Regions from separate parts of the Homo sapiens genome. Here region 2 is linked to region 1. Evidence: promoter capture Hi-C in 16 types of primary human blood cells and fetal thymus (Javierre and others, 2016). All regions are on one chromosome and are shown on one strand. Each heading gives the region's core, a stretch centred on a gene start or on the middle of the fragment in contact. The rest is flanking DNA. Distances are from core to core; before and after follow the strand shown.

Region 1 (5,455 bases), core at 1,511-4,010:
CACCGTGTTAGCCAGGATGGTCTCGATCCCCTGACCTCGTGATCCGCCCGCCTCGGCCTCCCAAAGTGCTGGGATTACAAGCGTGAGGTAGATTTTATTAGCTCCACTTTTCAAATGAGGAAAATGAAATTCGGTGTGCCATAGCACATTGCCCAAGGTCACACAACTAGGAAGAGTCATGGACAGAATTCAGCCCAAGGTCATCAGTGCCAGCACCTGTGCTTTCTCTCGTGCTCCACACCCCTCTGTAGATAACAATGGGACAACTCTAATAATCACTCGTGTAATTGAACTTATCTTCAGCTTATGTAAAATTTTCCATGGTCATATTGTGAGCTGGGTTCCAGGCCAATCTCTGCCACTCTAAGAAAACAAGGTGACAGTGATGAGGTATGTTGGAATGCATTGTTATTAAAGAAACAAGTTCTTATTTACTTAACTGGAACCAGGAATACATCAGTTCTGGCCACAGTGTTAGAATAAAAGCACTCATCTGATACACAGAATTAGGATAATCTCTACACTAGAAGGGCAAAGAGGGGAGGAACAAAACATAAGACAAAAATAAAACATTTTGCATTTGTTTCCTCGTGGAAACAGCATCTTAGAAAGCTTTGCAATTGTAATTAAATATTGTGTATTGTCTGGCTTTGAGATGGCATAAAAAACATTTAAAAGCAAGAGAAAAGCCCATTGTGAGGGCTTAGAAAGTAAGAAGTAAGTCGTTTAATTTTTCTTTCATCTGATGTTAATTTATGCAGAAGCTAATAACATATTTGTGGCTCAGAGCTGCTCATTGTAGGGAAGATTTCTTTCCCAACCACACTCTTCTGTGATCCCTGCCAGAATACAGCCATCATTTCAGGGCTTATTATACTTTTGTCAGGGAAAGGTAATATTCTGATACTTTCACATCCTGTAGATACATTTAATTTTTAATCTTCTGAACATCAATGGGCTTAAATGCTCTAATTCTTCTCTAGCTGTTACAAACAAAATGGCAAACCAATGAGAAAGAGATGGAAGAGGAAATTTTTTATGTGTGTTCAAAGTCAGGTAGACAGAAAGGGAAGAGTACTCTTGGCTGTTGAGGAAGAAAAAGTCAGGGGCAAGGAAGTTTTCATAAAAGAAACATGGGTTATTTTTATATCCAAGTAGGATATAATCAAATTGTTATGTTTTTATAAGTGAAAAATTTAATTCCATTGCTACCAAATCACCTATATAACAGAGACAATAGTGCTTGAGGAAATGTAGAATCTTGAGAAGTTGACATTTTAAATGAAATTCAGCATGAATAAAGTAAGTCTCATAATGACAGCTTAAAGGTCTAATTCATAAAAATGTTATTAAAGGACATTAATCTGCATTTTGTGGACTTCTGCTCTTATTCATGACTCTCACAGTGTATGACTGTAATCACAAGCAGAGTGTATAATAGGAGCATTAATTCAATTTGGACGAAGACAAGAATACTGTATCACCACAATAAAATTCCAGCTATATTAATTTGAAGGGTAGAATTTGTTGCACAAGAGCATTGTCTAAAAGAAAATTGAAAAATAAATGAATGCCTTCCATATTCTGGGTTCAAATATCTACTTTCTTTGTGAAGTTCGGTGTAAGATTGACTAATTGGCACAAGCTTTTTAATGAAATATTTATTCATCAACCTTATGAAACTTGGAGACTTGGATACTGAGTTCTGATCTTATGGTTAGTATGGCATTAGTGTTTAGCTTGAGCTTAGAAATATTTACAAGTCATTTGTATTTTAATTAACCCCTTTGCTGATACATGACATCAGAGGTGATGCTTAGCAAATGGCTATTCAATTGTCTGGCATATACATTTATTTAGAGAAGATGTAAAATTCACTACTACATAAAATTTCTCCCAGAGAAGCTGAAAGTAGTGATACTTGAAAGTATCTTCATTCAGAATTTTAAATATGATCTACATGTTTAATATGCATAAACCTTTAGAAAAGAAGAAGTGGAAATCAATTGGTTTATTTCTATCTCTGAAACTATCAAAATTTGACTTCTTGACTTTCTACTTCTGATTGGATGAGCTGTAATAGTATGCTGTAGACACTTTTAGACAAAGTGTGAATACATTTTTCCCTGAGACATTAGATTATCTCTAGAAATCATGAAAGGGGTTCTTTATAAATTATATGTCTAACATTGAAAGAAAGTGTTGTCTTTGATCTTGTAGGTAAAAAAGCTCTATACCTATGGGAATGAGTTAATTCCTCTATTTAATAAGATGCAGTCATTAGTAGACAACTTAAGGATTCATTCTAGAACTACATATTGAATTTCTTTAGCATAATAATGATCTTATAATAGTTCTGGGTAACGGAAGTCTTTGAATGTACCTGTACCTGAGATGAGAGACAACTGACAAAGAGAAAGGAATTTCAAATATAAGGTAAATAGCACTGCTAATTGAAGATAAAAATCAGTACATTTACAACATTAACCGTAGCTATTATTGTCCCAAATCTAAAACCACTGAACATTCAATTTCAACAACTATGTATTAGTACAGGACTTTGTTATCTAAAATGATTATGCTTACCAGAAAAGTGTCCAGGGATGTCCACCTGCTATGTGGCTATGCCTGGGCAGCACGTGAATTCTCTGTCTTTGCTCCCTCAGACCAAGGCTGTCTCAGATTTATGAAACAGGGCTCTTCCACGAAGTTTAGAAGTACCACAAACAGTTTGATGTGGCATCCAGACTTACTGCAACCTCTGGGTGCAAAGATTGAACAGCTTTGTTGATACAACCACTCAGAAAGGACCGTGGAAGTTATGTTTCCAACACACTGCCAGACACTTGTCATCAGGCTTAAATGCCTGTTGGCAAGAGCCAGATATGAAAAACAGCTACATCAAAAGATACCTTTTTAATGGTCTAATATATTATTTCTAATGAAATTAAATGTATAAAAGAAAACAAATATTAATTCTTCTAGTTTATCTGCAGTATATTTTCCAAGAAATATATTTTAATTTTATATATCAATACTTTTAGGCACTAGATAAACAATTGTTTGGTTCAGAAAGTTCAAACTATCACATTCATTATTTGTAAACAGTATTAGCAGTCTACAACGTTACACATTTACTGTGAGCCAGGCACTTTACACAGTGTTTTGTAAACATTAACTTTGAGGGAGGTATTATTATTTGATAAATGAGGAAAATAAGACTTAGTGGGATTAAATTACTTGCTCAGTCACAAAGCTAGCTGGAGGCAGAACTGACTTAACAAAAATCCTTCATTTCAACCTTGGTTTTGCTTTCATACTAAATTTCCCTAAAGGAAATATTTTAAATGTATTCTCTAGAAAAAGAAGGGGAAAAGAAGAAGGCTGAGAAGAAAGTTACTTCTGAAACAAAAAAGAAAGGTAGGAAATTTAAAAGCCATGTACCACATAAATCAATTAGTGTCCATGCATAATACTACTGGTAAATCTATTATTTTCTAGGAAAGAAATTCCCTTAATAAATGCATTGTCATTGTTATTAGTGAACACTCTTAACATGTCTAGATATTCCAAATAAAATTAAAATTGTCAATTTTTAAAAAGAGAATTCAATCCTAAACACTTTTTGAAAATTACTACTGTGATTATTTTTTCTTTCTTAAGAGCAGCTGCTTAATTCTCTCTAATTCACTACTTTACTTTAACTATATATGTGAATATGATGGTTACTATTTAACTAATTCAGTCTAATTTTAAAAGTCATTTTATGTAGAGGGCAGAAAATACTTGATTGGTTTGTTTTACACATATATATATATTTTAATTGGTTGTTTTCAAATAATTTATCTGATGTCCCAAGTGAACTTCAGAGATTTCAGAACTTTTGACATGGTTCTGGTGACCTCATAGCTCAGAGAACATTCAATATATTCTTTTCAATATATGTTAGGAAAGCTGTTAAATAATACCATAATTAATAATGCCATTTAATGTTTTCACTGTTATTAAATAATTTTTGCCTTTGGCAAAAAAAAAAAAGTTCTGTTTCCTGAAGAGAAATTATACCTAAGCCACTAGTCTGTTATGAAGGTGCTACCTTATTCATATTTGACATGACTTATGGCTGATTTAAGATTTCTCTATACAAGATAAATTAGATGCCTCACTGGTAGTCATGCATGCCCTGAAATATTTGCAAGTTAAACAGGTAAAGGCTTATAACTTTCTTATTTTACCAGCAGAAAAAGAAGATATCAAAAAGAAAAGTGAGAAGGAAACTGCCATTGATGTGGAAAAAAAAGGTATTGCACTTTCTTTGTTTCCTTAGATGGATTACGTTCAGGATGTTTGCTTCATGAAAGACTCCTCATGCAACATACACAAATTGCACACAGTTACTTATATCTACCCAAGACGTGAAGGTCAAAGCAAAACTTGCACTAGACAAAGTTAAACAGGCAAAGAAGACTTTATTCAAGGCTATTGCAATAGGACAGAGAGACTGGAATTGAGTCTGAACTCAATTCCCCCCCAAAAAAACGCAGGAATGTTTGTAATGGCTGGTATGGGGAATCACAGGACATCTGTTTTTGCATATTGGCTTTTCCCCCTCAAAACGTAAACTTTCAGTCTTATATCTGCATGGTAAGAAGTAGTTTCACAATGTGGAGCGAGGAGTCCAAGGAAGTTAGGCTCCTACTCTTCCACAGAAACTTAGAGATGGGGCACTATCTTTCTTGATGATTACATTTCAAAGGGATGGCTCTCAGTTCCTTGAGAAAGGCTTTATGGGTTGTGAAACTGAAAAGTGGCTTGTAAATGTCCCAGCTACTAGAGTGGCCAAGACAGGAGCATTGCTTGAGCCCAGGAGGTTGAGGCTGTAGTGAGCACCATAATTGCACTACTGCACTCCAGCCTGGGTAGCAGAGGAAGACCCTGTCTCCTCATCCCCCTACAAAAAAAAAAAAAAAAAAAAAAAAAAATCTGTATCTCAATAAAGTAGAGAAAGAATTTACAGTGACAAGTTTTCCAGTTTTCTGAAGTAAATGCTCTAAGAAAAGGGAGATTAGGAGCTGCTGAAGGTCAGAAAGAAACCTATTAAAGTTTAATCAAGGTGAGGACCACCTTGGTCAAGATACAATGAACTTGAGAAGAGATACATAGTAATAACAATACCACATTGCAAAGATAAGAAGCTGAGAAAGAATAATGCACCCTATTAAGAAATAAGGTTATTCAACTATTTGACAGTTTCGATTTTTGCTTTAAATTTTGTTCTGTTTCTATTCTTGTTCAAACATGAATATTGGCTTCGATTCAGGTTAGGCTTAAGTTTACATGGAAAAGACAATCATCTCAAGTATTATGGTTTGGTGATAAGCATTCTCACCTGAAAGATTTCCTCCACTGATGTCAGTGATGCTTAAAATTCTACCATTAGAACCATTCCATTCCT
Region 2 (5,455 bases), core at 1,064-3,563, 270 kb before region 1:
CTGACATGGGAAACATGTTCATTTAGCGAGATTTTGGAGCCTCTCAGCTTAGGCCACCCATAAAGCTTGCCCTTTTTGCCTCTGTCCCTAGAGCTGGCCCTAATCTATTATAATGCAGTATAAATCAATTTATTTTATGATCATGAAATTATGAGCAATATTTTTCTATTCTGAAAATAACAATGTGCCAAATAAAATAAATTAAAATTTTCAGTATTTCTGGAGGACTAGAGTGGATTATTATTTTTAAGAATGATTATAAAAATATCCATTTCAAAAGTGACAAAAACATTTCAAATACTTTGAAGTCGATCTTCAGGAACCTTTTGTCTTGGCCTTTTCTGTATTTTAGTCGGTATAAACAATCTCAAAATTGCATCCATTCAAAATCCCAAACTGGTAATTGAGAAAATGGCTTAAAATTCCATTTTTGGAATTTGCTATTTATATGCTAAGTTTGAACTATAATGTGGAATCAAAATTCTTTGAACAATGTTCCCAACATTGTATATCTCGTGATAATTACATTCTTGATTCTCTTATTGTTTGTTCCCTTGCTCATTCTTTTATATTTCTTCCCCTGACTCTCTTTACTTGGCTCACTTTTTTATTATAAAGATTTAAGATTTTGACTATTTTTTTCTTCAACATATATTTCATTGTTTAAAGGAAAATTTTCATTGCCCAACTAGTCTATTTTTTTCAGTAAACTAAACATTGCTACAAAGCTGATATTTTTGAGAAGCATAGAGCCTGGACTGTGATTGTACAGAACACCATGGTAGGAACAGTACTCAGAACAAAATATTCAAGACATTGTGACAGAACAAAAGAAGACACCAAAGAAAGAATATAATGTTTTTCTGCCTCTAGGAAAGGAAAATTTGGTGTTCCTACTGACAGTACCGATTTTTCATTGAGATGCATTATTCACTATTTTTTAAAACAAATTCTACATGCTAATGAATGTCAGGTAGTGTAAACCACAGAGGCTATATCATGAACAGTTTTAATCAGCCATAGAAACCAAATACTGTAAAAACACCCCAGATTTGTACAGAAAGTGTCAGGAAGATGAATACCTGTTTGCTTTACTAGATATCAAAATATGAGTAATACCTAGATGCAAATTTAAGGCAAAAAAATGACAATACGTATGTACACCTATTAAGAACTAGTTGAAAAGGGTGCTACTTACTAAGCTACAAGTAATATATTAAAATGACGAGATAATGCACTGTTTTTGTAATTTTCCCTGAAAAAAGAACTAATGCTGTCATTTCAGTACCAATAAGTTTAAATGTTAAGTGGTAATGTTTAAGTTATTTGTGTAAGAAAGGAGCCACTGTGACATGTTTTATGGGCTGAGTTTAAAAGAGGAGCAAAAGAACATAGGGTCAGCTCCAAATGTGTTAAACCCCATCTAATTCATGCCCATGCTTAGTGCTATGCATGGCACAAACTGGTCCCCCATTATTGTGTGTTAAATTAATAACTGATGCTTCAAAAATAGTGTTTAAAATGTATAGCTTATCACTTATCATTGGATAAGATTTGGATAAAGATTCAATATTTATCTGATCCCACCTTTTTCCAAGTTTTCCATTAATCTCTTTTACATGTATTATTTCGTTTGCTTCTTACAACAATCTGAGTGTGCATTGGGAGGAGGAAACAGTTATAGTTCACTCCAAAGTGATTTCATGGCACTAAGATTCAAATCAAAAAGTTGTCAAAAACATATTACAAAAGTAATACTTGTTATTGCATCAGAAACTGTTGCCTCATCTAGCAAGAAGCAATAGATCCTGACTAGAGAGATGCTGTGCCATTAGAAGGGTACCATTGACGTACATGTTATGGCTGCTGCCAGGGCCCTTTGGACTCCTTGTTCCCACAGACCAGCAGGTAAGAAGAGGAGTTGCCATACCAGCATGCAAAATTGATGCTGATCCCTAGGAAGAGGTAGGGTTGCTCTTACACAGTGGCGTCAGGGAAGCATATGTATAGAACCCAGGTGATCCACTGGGCACCTCTTGCTGCTCCCTTGGTCCATCGTAACTGTGAATAAACATGTGCAGCAACCCTAATCTAAGAAGTGTGTGATTGTCAAGAGTTTAACGCCCTTTGAAATGAAGGTTTGGGTCATATCACCATGTAAGCACCATTACCTGCCAATGTGAGAGCCAATGACAAATGAGGGGGGATTTGAAACAAATAGTGGAAGAAGGAGAGATAAGAAACAATGGCAACCCCCAAATGAGCTACAGCAACTGGGACTATATAGGTCATCCTACACCCTCTGCCTTGCCTATTTGCAATTTCTCTTAGAAAGAGAGGCCCATGGGATCGATAGAGGAGTGTGTCTTATATCAGAATAGGGGAGGTGGATGCTGTGGCCATGAGGCTGTACCTCTCAGGTCTCGGACCATGAGGAGCAGAATTCTCTGAGACCCCCAGTTGCTGTGATCGGACATTGTTGCCACATGTTAATTAGTGGATGCCACATTTCCCATAGACTGCTCTCACCAATGAGTGAGTGTGGCAGGGATTTAAAGGCAGGCCAGGTCCTGGGAGAATCATGTCCCTTCTGACAGCAATTTTGTCTTTCCAATGGTCTTGCTGAAGTTTCCTCTGAACTTCAGTGAATCCTGCTTCCTTCCTTTCCTTTCTCCTTCACTCAGGGTCAGATTAAATTGTGATCTGATGGCTCCCCTCCCCTAGCTTGGGTCTCCCAATTTTGTCTCATAGCTTGCTTCAAGAAGGACCCTGACACAGATGCTTACTAGGTGAAACCTGCCTACTTTTTCACTGGGTAGCTTTTTACTTGTGTTGCATAATGAGCTGACAGCACAACAATCTTACCTTACAAGGCTCACAAGCCTCATATCTGTCAGGAGTTAATCACATTTTCAGGCCTGGGGAAGAGACCTTTCCAGTTTTTGCTGTTCCTGCAGATAACTATCGTAAGACTTTGCTCATTTCCTTTGTTCATTTCAATGTGATGTTGGGAGGAAGAAGTAGGTAACAGCATTTGGTGGGGAAAAAAGAGATACAAGTTGAAAATCCCTTACCTGAAATGCTTGGAACGAGAATTGTTTTGGAATTCCAGTTTTTTTGATTTTGGAATATTTGCAGATATGTAATAAAATAACTTGGGGACAGGACCCAAATCTAAATCCAAAACTTGTTTACATTTCATATACATCTAGCCTAAAGGTAATTTTATGTAATATTTTAAGTAATTTTGTGCCTGAAATAAAATTCATGTTAAGTGCTTATGTGAGCAATTTTCCACTTCTGGCATCATGTGGGCACTCAAAAACTTTTGGATTTTGGACCATTTTGGATTTTCACATTAGGGACGCTCAACCTGTACTGACATGTTGAAATCGAACACCCCCCCTTGAAATCTTTAACAGTAGTTCTAGTAATAAGCTAAACATTGCTCAGTTTTAGTTGTCTCCCTTCCTGCCTTCCCATAGACATGTTAATACATACTTCTCTTTTTTTATATTAACTAATATATTTGTCTATTAATCTCAGCATTATTCCTCCCGCAATTTGGAGTCTGCTCCTTCTTTCAAATGCTTCCACTATGTGGAAACACAAGTACTTCTTTCAAATGTTTGTGTTTACTACTTATGTCAATTTCAATGTATGTGTCCCTCCAAAATTTATAGGTTGAACTTAAACCCCATTGCCATAGAAGTAAAGGGTAGGGCCTTCAAGAAGTGATCAAATCATGAGGGAAGAACCCTCATGTATGGGATTACTGCCCTTATGAAAGGGCTGGAGGGAAATAGCAAAGCCCCTTTTCTCTTCTACCTTCTGCTATGTAAAGACACAGCTTTCCTCCCCTCTAGAGGACTCAGCAACAAAAGGCCATCTTGGAAGCAGAGAGACCAGACACTCCATAGACACCGAACCTGCTGGTGCCTCAATCTTGGACTTCTCAGTGTCCAGAATTGCAAAAGTAAGTTTCTATTATTTATGAATTACTCCGTCTCAGGTATTGTGTTATAGTACAAATGGACTAAGACAACCAGTCATTCATTTAACCACGTGGACTGAAAATCAACTCAATTCCAGGCAAAGAATTGGCATGATGATATGAATATAACATGAATTTATCCCCTGGAAAAATTCATGTTATAATCACTTCCAAGTGTATTAAAAATTGTATTAAATCCAAAAGATATTAGAGCTTTTTAATAGCTAGAAGATACTTAAGGGGAATAGATTTGCTCATTCTTAGACACAATTCTTATTCTGCCCTTTATTGTTCACGTTGTGAGTTATACAGGTCCTTCTCTATTTGGACAAGGACTTATAACCAAATAAAAGTGTAGAAAGCTAAAAATTGTGTATATTATGAATAAAAAGTGAAGAAAATTTTTGTCACTGCTACAGAGAGGTTGCTATAGTAAGCATATTTACCCAATCATAACTTTTTTTTTTGTAATCATGGAAAACTGCTTATTGTGAGCACTTATTACCCAATTGAAATGATTTCTTTTAAGGATAGAGTGTGATTGAGTCTTTTCCAACTGGAAGCTTATTATGAAGCATGATTGCATGTCTTAATGCATTATATACAATCAGAAAATATATGTTAATTAAGTAAATTCTGTGCAAGTATGTTTATGAAATGCTGGGTTTAAAAGACCTTGCATTCAAAATTGACAAAGACATACTCGCAGGGCCAAGGTCTAAGAAAGTCTAAAGCCAAAAAAACCCAAAAAAGTAATGACAGTAATGAGTATTTCTGTGGACTGTGGACTACTCTTGCCTTTGCCTTTATTGGCTTTAAACCCAGACTTCATGTTGGAATCTGAGTTTCGCATTAATCTTATGATAACTTCTTTTGCCTACTAATTACTTGGTATCTGAATTCAGTCTGTTTTTCAATTTTATTTTTTTGAGACAAGGTCTCTGTTACCCAGGCTGGAGTGTAGAGGCGCAATCGTGGCTCACTGTAGGTTTAACCTTCTGGGCTCCAGTGATCCTCCTGCCTCAATCTCCTGAGTAGCTGGGACTACCAGCACATGCCACCATGCCCAGCTATTTATTTATATCTTTTGTAGAGATAGAGTCTTGCTATGTTGTCCAGGCTGGTCTTAATCACCTGGGCTCAAGTGATCCTCTGGTCTTGGCCTCCCAAAGTGCTGGGATTACAGGCATGAGCCACCATGCCTGCCCAGTATATTATATTTTATTACGCTACATTTTATTATAACTCCCCTGAGCTCCCAACCTTAATAGGGCCGGGGCTTTTTTCCTTACAAAATTTAAGCATAACAAAGTTTGAATGTAAATTTCTACCAATAAGATACTAAAATTAATATTTACTACACTGGATTTGCCACACACTTGTCTCTCTGTCCATCCAACAATTCACCTTATCTTTGGATTCATTTCAAAGTTATTTACAGATGTAACATCTCAGCATGCA

Evidence for each region. Contacts are between HindIII fragments. The CHiCAGO score rates a contact against its expected background, and 5 or more counts as called.
Region 2: a contact is called between a fragment that was not itself captured here and the fragment with the promoter of TRDN-AS1 in region 1, in 1 of 17 cell types (megakaryocytes). The highest score is 6.4, in megakaryocytes.

What each region holds. Positions count from the first base shown.
Region 1 is chr6:123,436,909-123,442,363 of GRCh38, reverse strand. It overlaps TRDN-AS1 (TRDN antisense RNA 1), which reads right to left and starts at 2,760. Exons shown (of 3, transcript NR_110844.1): 1 at 2,587-2,760. TRDN (triadin) reads left to right here. Exons shown (of 41, transcript NM_006073.4): 11 at 3,361-3,420; 12 at 4,242-4,301. The HindIII fragment of the contact is 3,987 bases long and covers 1,648-5,455 here.
Region 2 is chr6:123,701,708-123,707,162 of GRCh38, reverse strand. No RefSeq gene overlaps it. Among named protein-coding and RNA genes, the nearest start is that of TRDN, 67 kb to the right of the region's middle. The HindIII fragment of the contact is 4,492 bases long and covers 68-4,559 here.